Linked DNA regions of Homo sapiens: region 2 is linked to region 1. The links are contacts of gene promoters, found by promoter capture Hi-C in blood cells and fetal thymus (Javierre and others, 2016). All regions are on one chromosome and are shown on one strand. Each heading gives the region's core, a stretch centred on a gene start or on the middle of the fragment in contact. The rest is flanking DNA. Distances are from core to core; before and after follow the strand shown. Region 1 holds the start of PEX5L (peroxisomal biogenesis factor 5 like). Region 2 overlaps TTC14-DT (TTC14 divergent transcript).

Region 1 (7,377 bases), core at 1,330-3,829:
GATTTTAATCATACACATTTTGGAGTGTTTGGAATGTGTTTCTTCTTATCTGTGATTAGAGTCAGGTACACACAGGAAGATGATAGTATCTCTGATAAGGAAACGTTATTTTGTCCATAGGCTAAATAATATTCTTTGGGGGAAGAGATATGAGTTTAAAATGTAAGCCAACAAGTATATTATGAATCAATCTGTCATAGGTATTTTTTTGTTGGGGGGAGCAGATGCCCATTCAGATCATCATACTATTGAATAACTACTAAACGTACCTACTAAGGCCTCGGAAGTTTTATGCTTAACATTAATGGTTAATAGTAAGTAGGAAAAAAGTATTATGCTCTGAAATTTTGGTGGATGTATTGATTACAGTCTTTATTTAGTAATGTTTTAATTTAAGCTTGGCAGCAAAGATTTGTGAGTTTTACTGCAAGTCATCATATTTGCTGTTACAGCAGTGCACAAGCAAAAGACATTAAGTTGGGAGAATATGCAGAGTCTTATATTTTGTTTATTCTTTCAAAGTGAAATTAAACCCTCAGACATTGTTCCAGGCAACTCAAGTTTCAATAACATTCTCCTTTGAGATATTGAGAAAATTGAGTTAAAATTGTTTTTGGGTGCATGAATTTACCATATTGTTGCTTCGATTCTTCATTCACAGTAACATATTTTTTAAGCAACAAAACAATACTGTGCAAAGTTTTTGTTAATTTCCCCTTAGTGGTCAATTGTCAATTTTGTGTAAATGAACAATTTTTTGAGGGTTGACTCTATTAAAATCTTCCTGTTTTACCCTTGTGAAGAAACTGTTTAAAAAACAGATAATATATAAAATTGTAAGTATCATTCTTGGGTGAAGATGAAGCATAAAACTATAGTAATAATTCTTTGTTAATTTTTTCAGCAGTCATTATTTGAATTCTTCTATGTTACTTAACTTTTCAATTGGTGTAGCTTTTATAAGAAACATGCAGATCACATTGATCATATATAATATTTAAAAATATACTTCATTCACTACTTTTTGTCTATCAAATGTGATATAATCACATTAATAATTTTCAAAACAGGATGATGTTAGTCATACGGGAAATCTTTTGGAATTCTGGCACTGTATATTGAGAATTCTTATAAAAATTGAGACTATGATGAAATATTGTGTTTTATTTAAAAATGGATTATAGTCCAAAAGAATTTCCCTAAGTTATGGAAATTAAATCTGGGTAGTACTAAGTCATAAATATAACAACATATTTATCTATTTCCAATTGCTCTAAAAGACACAGAAGCAAAATCCTCAGTATTCATAAATGTTATACACCAGGATAAAGGCATCACACATAATGATTGTATTTGACCATCTTTGGAATGGAAAGGAAGCCCAAACATCAAACCTGATGACTAAACCATTTAGGTGCGATAAAGAGTCCAGTTCATACTTTAGAAAGCTGAGTTAGTATTTTATTTTTCTCCCAAAGCATATATCTGCCTTTATAAGAACCAACCAACCGTATGAATGAGAACTGGAGTCAAGGTTAAAGTAATCTTGCCCAAGAGAGTAGAGTGTGTTTGCATCGGAAAGAAGCAGCGGCTCAGCTCAGATGAATATTAATAACAACCGGAGGCAGCACCTCCCCTGAAAAACATTAGAGCTCCTTGGACATGTGTTTGAAATTCATCCTCCCAAGTCATCCTGTGACTATTGGAGTAGATGGCAATGTCCCATAATGTGAAGGGGGAAAATACACTATAAATCGTTTTTTAAATATAACACTTTAAAAAATGAAACGAAAGTGACAGAGTGTTCTAAGTCAAGCAACCTTTTCAGATGGTAAAGGAAAAGCTTTGTCTTTCCTATTATTGTTTGCCCTTCAGTTGACATACATGCTGAGATGCATCAATAGGATTACAACGGAAACACGGTCATCTCTAGGGTTTCCTCTGTTTCGATTCCTTGATCCTGTTTAAAGAAACAGGCTCAGGGAATGCACAGAAAACAAACTTCCCCAATCGAAGTTCTGAGGTCTTCCCTCCCCTTCTCCCACCTTCGGAAACCGGTCTAGTTTTCCCGGCAGCACCGGACAGAAATGTCACGGTCATGTTGCATCACTTCACTTGTTGAGCTGTGCGAAGGCAGCACTTGACCACAGAAACTTGGTGAACCGCCTTGCTCTTAAATTAGCCCCCAAGAATTCTCTCCAGCCCTATAGAAATGTCTTACCTGCATGTGTCCCTGGTACATTCTGCTTCGGTTTCTTCAGGGCTCCCTGAGGCCACCGGATGCTTTTCCCCCGTGCTTACTTGCCCACCAAAAGAGGGGAAAAGGTGGGTGCACAGCGGGTTCTCAGAGGGTGCTCCTGAGCCCCCTGGAGCTCCGGGTACTCGGCCGGCCGGCGGCCACTCGGCAGCGCTGCGGGCTGCCGGGAACTGTTCTCCGCTCGGGGTGCTGAAAGCGGACGCGGGAGAGCGCGCAGAGAAGGCGAGGAGCCGGGTCGGCCAGGCTCTCCTGCAGGCGCGGGTCCTGCTCGCGGGGCGTCTCTAGAACTCACTCCTTCTTCGCCGAACTCTTTCTCGCTTCCTGCCAGGTTGCCTCATGTCTCTCTCTCTCTGAGCTGCGAACCCCCTCCTCCCAGCCCTGACGTGAGCGCCTACACCAGCCGCCGCCGCAGCTGCCGAGCGGGGCGCGCGCCGTTCTCCCAGCCGCGTGCCTGCCGAGAGGCCGCGGGACCGGGCACGCGCGCGCGTTCCCAGGGGCCTGGGAGCGGCCCGAGGGCGGCCCCGGGCGGTGCGCGCTCCCCGAGCGCGTCCTCGGGGCTGCGCGCGCGCGGCGGCAAGGCGAGGTGCCGGCAGGCGGTGGTCGCGCTGGTGTACAACGCCCGCAGCAGCGCGGCGTTCAGGTGCGGCGTCGGCGGGCAGGGCGATTCTAGCGGAGAGGATGGCCGGCCGGAAGAAAGGCGGGAAGACATGCATCGTCTCTCCGGGGGCCATCCACCGCGGCTGAGCCTGTTATCCTACAGACATTATAGGCTGAGTGCAGGGGTTGCCGAAGAGTTTACTTCGGTTCTGATTCAGCTCTCGAAAGTTACGTCCGTATCACCCGTTAAATAAAGACTCCCCGCTCCCCTCATCCCCAGTTCATCGCCGAGCATTCTATTTAAAACGGCAAACCCTAGTCCCTGAGGATCTGGCATGTTTTATTTTTTTCCCTAGCACGTAACATCACCTAACATCCTTTATATTTTCCATATTTATTTTATGTACTGTCTGTCTCTCCCTCTGTACAATGTTATTTCCATGAGATCAGGGACTTTTTTTTAGGGGGGTGGAGTGTTGCACTTGGTTTTGCACGTGTGTGCACAGTAAGGTATTTAGTACTTCCTGACACATGGCAGGCACACAATAAATATTTGCTGAATGAATAGACCTTTACTACTATACACTTACACACACATACACACATATATGAAGAGTGCATTTAAATATGTCTCAAGTTGAGACTGGGTAGTTTGATGTGTCTACACAATAAATGTTCATATATACACACACACCACGGGGTGGTGTATACTGTGATTACCTAATTTTGTTGGTAAAAACATCTCCAATTCTACAGGCCCCTCATATTATGTACAGCATGATATCCCCAAAATATTGCATATAGCATAATATGCTTTTTATAAAGTTTAAAAAATCCCTAGAAATGTCAATGTGTATTCATATATTCATATACAACAATATAAAAAGGAAAGCAGTGGAACAATGAATATAGTGTTCAGAGTGTTGGTGACCCTGGGTGAAGGGAGGCAGGGAAATAGATGGGGAAGCATTTCACTTGAAGTTTAGATGTTAATGTCTTATCTTCTATGCCGGGTAGTGATTCATAGGACACCTAATATCCTATTAAAAATTACTGTGTAACTAAATAAAATAGAACCATGTATGGACTAATGAGGAGAATGTGAAATGAACAAAAGGATGTGAAATGAACCAATTCAATGCATCTGAGGTCCTAAAACAACCAACCAAACAAACACAAAAGGACTAAGACCTGTAAGCAGGAGACATGGATTCCTATTAGATTCCACTAGTAGTTACCCTTGGACAATTTCCTTTTACTACTTTGGACATCAGTTTTTTCATGTCTAAACTCTGTATAAAAAACTTATTTTTTTTACCCTGAAAATAGAGATATGTTCATAAGCACTGTAAACTGTAAAATGTCATCCAGTTCTTATTTTATTGTTCTTTATAGGACAAAGCACAGGACTTGGAGTCAGCAACAAGAGGTGCTAGTTCCATCTCACTACCTCAATGCTCTCTTGGGCAAGTGTACCAACTCTCTATTTCCTCAATTTTGAAATAAGACAAATATCTACCTAGTGTGCTGCACAGAGCTGCTGAGGACTGAATGTATGCAAAGGAAGTTGTAAATTACCAACCATGATATATGAATATGCAAACAGACTTTTTTTTCCCAGTTCAGAAAAGATGAGGACTGATTTTCTGAGACCTCAAGTACTGCAGATTTTAAAATGGTACTAATTATCATATAATACTATCATGTTATATAAAAACTGGGAAAAGTATAGTGCTTTGATTTAAAAGTACTAGAAATCTGTGAAGTAACAATAGGGTCAAAGTTTTCCAATCCATTATATGCTTGTTATTATCTAACGGCAGGTTCAAGGAGCCAACAACCATAAAAGCATTTGGATCAGAATGGCAACTGCCTAGTGTTGAAGCTAGAACTCAATATATTCTCTTCTTAAACCTGAGTCACTGATTTCGTTACTGCCTACATTCTCAAAATCTCAGGAGTGAAAGCTTTCCTTTGTGAAGAATTCCTCTTCACACTTATTCCTTCTGTTAGAAGATAAACTAAGGCACATTAAAATTTTAAAGGGTTTTTTGAGCAAATAGCCATTCATGCATCAGGCAGCAGCAGACCGAAAGCAGTTGGGGACTCTGTCGGAAGTCGTTAAAGGGAAAGATTTTATAGGGTAAATGTGGAAGCAGAGCAAAGAAATTATTTGGTTAAAGAGGAATACTGGATTTATTTGGATCATTCTAATGGAAAGTCCATAGTTAGAGGTTAGTTTGTGGTTTCTGATTGGTTAAGCTTAACTTTCACTTTCCTAGACTATTTCTTAGACTAGGAATGAGATTTGAATTATCTTTATTTTCCTCAGAAACAATGCATGTCTAATAAGCTAGGTCCAGAAAAATATTTTACAAAAGATTTATTTTGTAATTAAATTTGAAGACCCTTGTTACTCAAAACGTGGTGTGTGGACCAGCAACATCAGCATGTCCTGGGAGCTTGTAAGAAATGCAGACTCTTGGGTGCCATTTCTGACCTACTGAATTAGAATATGCGTTTCAACAAGATCCCCAGGTGCTTGTATGCACCATAAAATTTGACCAGCACTGTGGCCTAGAAGGTTTATTTATTCATGTAAATATGTGGCAAAGCTAGCTCTTGCCTTTTGCAGTGATAACACATGAGCAACCTCAGTACCACTAGAGAAGAAGAATGCATATTGCACTCCATTTATAAAATAATCTCACTGTATTTTGAGTGGTCAGTGGACTTGGCATAAAATCATAGCACATTCAGCTTTCTTACAGCAAGAAATGTGCTTAGTACCACTGCAATTTTAATCACTGTAATACAATTAAATAATTGAGAGGTAGCAGTAGAATCTATTTTGTATTGACAAAATTTAATTTTGCTTATTAGTAAGCGAATCCTCCTGCATTTCAAATGGGTATTGAAAATTCAGGATTTATTAAATCTTTGAAAAAACTTAGTAAAAATGATGAGGTTAGTGTTCTTGTGGACTTAAAAATCAGAGATAAGAGTCTTTTGATGATTCAATCATTCTTTCATAATCTGTAGAATTCAAACTCTGGTGCTGAAAGATGGTGCAGGAGAGAACAAAAGTCAAAATAATTGTAGACCAAAATTAAAATGACTAATTGGTATTTGTTGTTCAATCAGAAGGAGGAACATTTTGTTAAAGTTTGCCCACTTACCCTTTTTGTCTCTTCGACACATAGAATGAGATTAGCTGGTGTTTCAGGGCATTTGATCTGGAAAAAATTTGGGAACCCCAGGCTGCCAGGAAGAATTATGAATAATAAGAGTATGTGGACTCTGATGACGAGGAGATGGCAGCAATGTTCTTCCAAATGAACAAACAAGCTGGATGCTTCAGAGCTGGGCCTCCTATTAAACCAATTTAAGAAATTACACTATATTTGTTTACTCTTTAGGACAATGTTTTTTCAGTGATCCAATATTGCTTTTAATATTAAGTGTACTTTCTAGAGTTTCTTATTCCTGGTGAGAAAACATTTGTGAACAAAAATATTTCTTGCTTTTGACTACTCCTTTCTACTGTTGCCACTGCCATCCTAGCCCAGATTCCCTAAACCTCTTATCACTTAAAGCTAGTTTTATCACCTCCGTTCATCTCCTACATCAACCTGTCATATACATCGCAGCCAGATTAATTTTATAAAGGTCAGCATTAATCACAATGCTGCTCAGGTCAGAAATCTTTAGTGGCTTTCCATTGCCCACTAATGTCCCAAAACTTCAGCTTTTTATTCACAGTCATGGAATATCGTTTGCTGCCCAGAGCAACATCCTCTTCTAGTGGCAGGAAGCCTCTTTTCTCAAGGCTCTTTGCTTTGAATAACCATCTCTTCCTCACTCTGGTCCACTTGTGTGGTAGGAAACATTTTACTACCAGGCTTTGGGGTTGCAACATAGCACCCAGGCTGAGCCAACCAGTGCATTCCGTCCCCATTGGTCACAGTTGGAGATGGGCATATTACCCACGTCAGTCAATCAGGGAAATGAACTCAGCTCCAGGACTACTCGGGAGCAGATTGATTCTTCCTCTGGACTGGATGTTCTACTGATGTTAGCTTGGAACTGCCAGAATCCAGCACACCAACTCTGAAAAGAAAACCAACCTGGGGGAATAATAATCCAGGCAGGCTCCAGGAGACAAAATTTGAGCCACTAAATAAACCACACTTAAAAGCTAGTCTAAAGTAATCTTTATTTCAGCTAGTGCCATCTCTTTTCTGGTTTACTGGATTTTTGGTCACTTGCAACCAAAAGAATACTTATGAATACAGTGGCTTTCCATAGACTGACCCTGTCTTTTTTCAGTTCTGTATGTTCTCTACCTTTTGCAATAACCCTGCTTTTTAATTATTCCCCAAAGTCAGCCCAAGTTATACTCATACTCTTGCCTCTTCTTGGAATGTACTCTCTCTCCCCACTCCTCTTGAATAAAAGCTCATTCATTTATCAAATTTGGTTTCCAATTCCATTTCCTTCCTGAAGCCTTTCTTCATCCTCTA
Region 2 (7,377 bases), core at 2,517-5,016, 530 kb after region 1:
AAAATGTAAAATGGTGACAAGATCACTTAAGCCTTACCTTAGCAGTCTAGTGATGGCACAGATCCCAAGATCACCTGGCTCCCTCCCCTCATTTTACATGCAAAACACTAAGGAACTGGGAGGTTGAATGACTTCTTTGACATAGCACAACTGGTTAACATTTGAACTAGAATCTATGTCAGGAACTCATGCCTAGTACGTACTTTCTGTTTCCCTGCACAGTGATTCCCCCATTTTGCTCTCCTTACTTACTATTTCCTTTGTTGCTCAAGACTTCATGAAACAATATTCTTATGAGAGTGTACTTCCCAAATAGCTTGCTTACTAGTTCTCTCTTAATGAAATCAATGTCTTACTTGTTGGACTTCTGAATCTTGCTTGTTATTGCTAAAAACAAAACAAAACACAAATGTAATGTCCAATGGATTTATACATTTATAAGCCTATATGACTCAAAAATTGCCAAATATGATTTATGTGTGATTGACACTATTAATGACCAATGACATTTCAAAAATCTTTAAGTGACCTTATCAATAAGGGATATGAAATTTGATAGGATACAGAAAACTCAAGAAATTCAAATTAAATGAAAGGCAGAGATGTAAAAATGCAGTGAAAATGATCCAAGTAGGCATTCCAGCTCAGCCACTAATTAATTCTGCGACCTCTGTCAACTCACTTAACTTCTCTATGGCCTAGATTACATACCTGTCAAAAACAATTTTTTAACAAGTTGAAATTGTTGAATTGAATAGCCTAAAAAATTCCTGAATAAATGAAGCCTCCAGAGCTCCATATAGACTGTACTCCAATTATTAGCAATAATAAGGTCTAAGATATAAGCATGGCTTATGGACAGAAAAGTCTGTGTGATAACAGCTAACTTAAAGAACAATAACCGGCCGGGCGCGGTGGCTCACGCCTGTAATCCCAGCACTTTGGGAGGCCGAGACGGGCGGATCACGAGGTCAGGAGATCGAGACCATCCTGGCTAACACGGTGAAACCCCGTCTCTACTAAAAATACAAAAATTAGCCAGGCATGGTGGCGCGCGCCTGTAGTCCCAGCTACACGGGAGGCTGAGGCAGGAGAATGGCATGAACCCGGGAGGCGGAGCTTGCAGTGAGTCGAGATCGCGCCACTGCACTCCAGCCTGGGCGACAGAGCGAAACTCCGTCTCAAAAAAAAAAAAAAAAAAAAGAACAATAACCATATGCCACATTGTTGAAGAGCTATATGTAAACTCATACAATAACTGCCACCCAAACTAAATGAGGTAAGCACCATTGTTTTCATCCCCACTTTCCAGATGAGTATACTGAGTCACAGACAGGTTAGTAACTTGTTAATGTTACACATATAGTAAATAGCAGAGCTAGGATTTGAACCCAGTCTCACTCCAGAGCCATGCCCCTCTGGTGATGGGTAACCTGACAGATTTAGGTAGCTGGTCATGGCAGAGATTAAGAGACCCTGATGGTCTTTTGAGGTAAAGTGGATAATAAGTTCTGACAACAGCATCTTTCCTAAGGCTGGTTTCTCAGTTTATAGTAGTAAGTTGCCAATATTCACCCAGGTGCTTAAGCTAAAAATCAAAGAATCATTATTGATGTTTGCCTTTCTTTCACCCCATAGCCCATTAGCAGGTCTTATTAGGTTTGCCATCAAAATAAATCCAGAATCCAACCATTTCTCACCACTCTACTACTACCACTTAGTGCATGTCCATCTTCATCATCACCAGGAATATTGCAATTGCCTCCCTATTGGCTTTCCTGCTTTTCTACTTACCCTTCTATAGTCTCATCTCCTTATAGCATATGAGTAATCATTTTTAAAACATGGGGTAGATCACATCACCCCTCCCCCTACTCAAAATCTTCAGTGACTTCCCATCAAATTTTGAATAAAATACTACATGATCTAGCCTGACTACCTCTCTCATCTCATCCTTACCCACTCTCCCTAACTTACTCCACTAGCTTTCTGGCTGTTCTTCAAATATGTGAACTCACCCCCACCTCAGGTCCCGTGAACTGGCATTTCTATTTGCCTAGAATGTTCTTCCCAAGGACATTTATACATTTGACACCTTCACATCATTCAGACCCCTGACTAAATGTCTCTTCCACAAAGAGCAATTCCTGACTACCCTCTCTAAAACAACTCAGCCCTTCAGTCACAATCCCCACACCTCAGACTTCATTTCTCTTCATAGCATTTGCAGTTACCTGAAATTACATTCAAAATGTATTTGATAATAACCTTGAGGATACAGGCCTAGGGTACCTTTTTAACTGCTTTACCTTCAGTGCTTGGACAGTGGCAGCTATAATAGTAAATGCTCAATTAACCAAGTGAATTAATTCCTCCGAGCTCCATCATTTTTTGATACCATGATATTCACAGGACCTGACCCTGTCAGATTCTGAATAGACTTCACCACTCATCTATCTTAGGGCAGACTACTTGGAATTGGTGGCCCATAACAGCACCTTTCTTAAGGAGGTAAATGCTCCACCTGCAGTAGCACTCCTCTCTCGTTTTCTCTTTTCCTGGTATGGCGTGAGGAGGCTTTGCTGTTTTCTCTTTCCTTTGAGGTAGACACATTTTTTCATTTCTCATTATTCAGTTTGTTTTTGTCATGGAATATATTTTGCTATCTAAATAAAGCTTCCTGAAGTCTTTGAACTTCTGTGGTGATGTTCTGTATTCTTTCCTACCAAAATATAACTGCTATATATCTGTTAGATGAGAGTTAACTCATTAGCATTAAACACTAAGATAATTACTGCATTAAAATCTCCTGCCATGTGGAGATGTAGAAATGAAAGCTGCCCCCTGCTTCCTCTGCTCATCACAACCTCTGGAAACTTTTCTAGGCTTCCCTGAGAATTTTTGTTAAGTAACAAACACAACCTGTGCAGCAGTCTTTTATTCTCTATTCATCATTAAAAGTGAGAAGTTGCTGGCTAGGACTGAAGTTTGTTAGCTCAGATGGAAACTTTGGAATAATTACTGATATCGTGTATTGTTAAAACCTGTGCTAAATTAGGTGGCGTGCATACATAATGTATGGAAAGGTAAGGCTGCTGCTTCCACAAACCCGACTTCTTCATAAAGAAAAATCAAATAGATTAAACACAGCTAACAGAGAGAAGTTGAAAAAGAAGCCCTTATTTCCAGTGATCATTCAGGAAAGGGCCTTAGAAGATTCCGTTCACATGCTAAAAGCATCCATTCCTCACTTAGACATCTACAGAAATAAGGAAAATTTAGTGAGTTAAAGGACAATATACTGGATGTAACCCATTTTTCTTTTTATTAAATATCCCACTGCAACATCTAGGATTTGACATCCATATGTACAGGCAATAATAAAACTAAAATTTTCTACACTGGCTGATATCTCAGTTCAACCACAACAGTTAGCTCTCAATTTCCAAAACAGTATGAAAAGCAATAGTCTTTTTATTTGCTAACCAGAACTGTGAATTTAATCCTCTAGAAATAGATTTGAAGTTGTGCTCTCTTGCTTACCTTCTACTGTGATTAGATCTATATATTTTAAACTGTATTTGGAGGATAGAGTAAAATTTCTGTGACTCTGTCATTAAAATAAGTAACACAAAGGTAAAATATGATCACAATGAGCCAAGGAATTAAAGTGAGATACATAGTAATTCATGCAAAGGGCAAGATAGTTTCTCTGCTGTTAGCTTCAAAGGTTGTAGGTAATAAATTAAAAACTATAAGCAAATTTAAAGAATTAAAAGAAAAGCAAATAACTCTTGAGACTGATTTAGGTAGGTAATTTATCACTTCTTTATATCTCTCCCAGGAGATTAACTAGAGAAACTGTGGATATTGTATCAATGAGTGACATTCAAAATATTTTACAACGAACATGGCACCAGCACCAATCTAATACAGCAGACTCCAGCCCGAATGAGGAAGTAGGTCCCCGAGTGCCTCTTTTGCAGCAGGCATCAACCATTTAGTTGCTGATTATGGGGGGCTCTGGTGGGTTCTGGGAAAGGGTCTAGGGCAGCCAAGGCAGAGGGAAGACTAGGGAGGACCCACTCAGAGATTTTGCTGCAGAAACTCTTTACCAACGTAATGAAAGATTTTCAGTATTTTTAACACTTGGAAGAACCATACAGTGCATTACCCCTGGTGCCGTCATGAGCTTTGAGGAACTGAGGAAGGAGGAAAGGAAGAGAAAGGAGGAGCAATGAACATATCGTTTCCTCTAGAATAATTTACCTTTCACTTCTCTTCCCTTAGTGAGATCCTACTCATCTTATGGATCTCAATTCACATGTCATATATGAAGTCAAATTCCTCACTACCAACAGAAACCTCTGCCCTACTTCTCATTCCCCTCTCTCTGTAAGTATACATGTATGTGTGTGGTCATTTGCTTACTCTCTCTTTTTCACACTAGACTCTAAGGCCCTGAGCACAGGGACCTTCTCTTTTTGCTCAACATTTTCTTCCTAGCAACTAGAAAAATATTCGATGCCAGCACTTTGGGAGGTTGAGGTGGGCGGATCACGAGGACAGGAGTTCAAGACCAGCCTGACCAACATAGTGAAACCCCGTCTCTATTAAAAATACAAAAAGAAATTAGCTGGGTGTGGTGGCATGCACCTGTAATCCCAGCTATTCAGGAGGCTGAGGCAGGAGAATCACTTGAACCCAGGAGGCAGAGGTTGCAGCGAGCCAAGATCATGCCACTGCACTCCAGCCTGGGTGACAGAGCAAGACTCCGTCTCAAAAAAAAAAAGAAAGAAAGAAAGAAAAAAAAATATGTGATGCACAACAAGAATTCTTAATAAACGAATGAATGGAAAGCTTAGTTTGGTTTTTTAAATTTACATGCTACATAAGGCAAAATAAAAGATCAATTAAACTGACTTCGTTATTATTAGTCCACTCACAGTAAGGGAGAAAGTTCTGCAAGTAAAAAAAAGATAATAATAAAAATATCTAGCATTTATTGAGTTTTCCTATAGGTTAATCACTGTGCTAAGTGTTTCAAATACTGTCTGTCAAACAGCAGAGGCTGAACTCTTAATCTCTACCTATTTTTCTTCTCATGTTTAATCCATTTTATGTGGGTAAGCTGGCAGATATTTTGTGCTTCTGTACAGGATTGGATTAGGTATGCATAAGAACCAAAGTAATGCATTATAAGAAAAGAGATAACTTAAGAAAAACTGCGTCAGACTTTTTCAGGTTATCTATTCCATGAGCAGATGGTATACTTCTGAGGAAATATCAGGATATATTAAAGAAAACGTTTAGGCAACTGATGTTTATGTGGGTGCCGATTTCTGGCTACAGCAGATGCCTGTTGCTTCCTGACATCTGCCATATTCCACTCTAAGTACCAAAAAAACATACAGCTGACAAAGTTGCATAGATAATGGCTTTGCATATCAATAAGTTGTGCTAGCTAGTCCTACAAGGCATTATCTAACCAGGAACTCAAAAGCTGAAGTTGATCTCTCAGATACCGTATAACAATAGAAAGAACACAGACATTGGAATTAAACAAGCCTGAGCTCACTATCTTGGGCCTCCCATTTACATGCTAGGTAATTTTGAAAAATATTTTTAACCTCACAGAACTTAAGTTTCTTTATTGGTAAAATAATTTAGTAATGTTTAACCTGCTGGTTGCCACAAGATTCAAATACACATAAGTGCCTGAAAAATCCTAGGCACTTAATAAATGCTAGCTAAATGTCTAAACTACACCAAAATTTGATCTTGTAGAAATGTGTGTTGATGGTCTGATGAAACAGAATAAAATAAATGTTAAATCTGGAGGTTTTGAGTGTAGGACTGGGCCTATGAGCGGCACAGGCTTGAAACCGAAAGAGGAATAGAAAGAGCTGGCATCTATTCTTGGGTCGAGATATCCACAGACATAAAGGCAATCTCACTTTGCAGCACTCCCTTGGAAAACGGCTCAGAGGAGATGAACAGTAGAGAGAGAAGTGGGGCTGCCAAGAGAAAAGCTGAAAAGGGAATCGTAGAGGATGGGCTCTGAGGCTAGTTTGACTACTGCTTCTTCTGTGGTATAAAACTTCAAGTGACAAATTGTAGTGTTATAATTAAGGCTCACAGGAGAAAGCGGATTAACTGAGACAATGGCCCATTGCGTGGTAAAACCAAAGGAATTCTCTAAGAGGCCTCTAGTCAGAAAGGATGGAAGCTCCCCTTAGAGGTCAACCCTCAGAGAAAGTATGGGAGCTCAAGTAGATTTCCTCCCCACACCAAACCCCCAGGCTCATATGGCCGGTAACCAGAGGTCTGGGAGCATCTACAGGAAGGCAGCAAGTCCCTACTTCTGCTAGATGGACAAAGTCTGAGGTTACACCTCCTGAAGCCAGGAGGAAAGTTCATTTTCTTCTTGTCTTCTAATTGCCCAGGAAAAAACTCTAAGGAAATTCAGATCACTGAGTTAACGCCTCTGCTAAAATCTCTGCTTGGTTCAGAACCATATTGTTTGCTGCAACTGATTAATTGTATATGCAGTTAAGTTTTCCCTTTTAGGAATTAGCATACCATGTCTAAAAAAAAACCCTTAATTAATTGTGCCCCACACCAATTGATTATTATTGGGTTCACCGTCTTCATCCATCCCAATCATTAGACACTTATAAATAAGAGTTTTGCTTAATACTATGGGGATCATATGTCTAAGATCTGTTAAGAAAATGTGACGGTTAATTTTATCTGTTAACTTGCTTAGGCCATGGTACCCAGATTTGGTGAAACACCACTCTAGATGTTGCTGCGAAGGTATTTTTTTAGACAAGATTAACATTTAAATGAGTCAAGCAGATTACCCTCCATAATGTGAGTGTACCTCATCCAATCATTTAAAGGCCTCAAGAGGAAAAGAAGACTCATATCTCACAAGGAAGAGGGAACTCGGCCTCCCTATTGCCTTTGGAGTTGAGTTGAAACATCACCTCTTCCCTGGGTGTCTCCATCTTGCCAATCTGCCCTGCAGACTTTGGACTTGCCAGCCCCCACAATCATGTGAGCCAATTCCTTAAAATAAACCTCTCTCTATACACACACACACACACACACACACACACACACACACACACACACACACACCCTATTGGTTCTGTTTCTCTGGAAAACTCTAATACAGAAAGCTTTTAAAGTTGGGGACTGGTAGTGTTGCAAAAAGGGAGTCTTTTAAAGTGTTATAATCCAGGCCAGGGGTCAGTCAACTTTTTCTGTAAAGGGCCAGATAGTAAATATTTAAGGCTCTGCACATCATAAGATCTTTGTAGCAACTACAAAGCTCTGCTATTGTAGCACAAATGGGTATGGCTGGGTTAC

Evidence for each region. The method cuts DNA at HindIII sites, captures the fragments that hold promoters and counts their contacts. A CHiCAGO score of 5 or more calls a contact.
Region 2: a fragment that was not itself captured here is called in contact with the fragment with the promoter of PEX5L in region 1 in 1 of 17 cell types (endothelial precursors); the score reaches 5.7 in endothelial precursors.

The regions. Positions count from the first base shown.
Region 1 is chr3:180,034,358-180,041,734 of GRCh38, forward strand. It overlaps PEX5L (peroxisomal biogenesis factor 5 like), which reads right to left and starts at 2,580. Exons shown (of 15, transcript NM_016559.3): 1 at 2,222-2,580. The coding sequence starts at 2,242. RefSeq lists a silencer at 2,646-2,695. The HindIII fragment of the contact is 2,978 bases long and covers 1,842-4,819 here.
Region 2 is chr3:180,566,475-180,573,851 of GRCh38, forward strand. All of the region lies in intron 2 of TTC14-DT (TTC14 divergent transcript), which reads right to left. Among named protein-coding and RNA genes, the nearest start is that of TTC14-DT, 32 kb to the right of the region's middle. The HindIII fragment of the contact is 2,184 bases long and covers 2,675-4,858 here.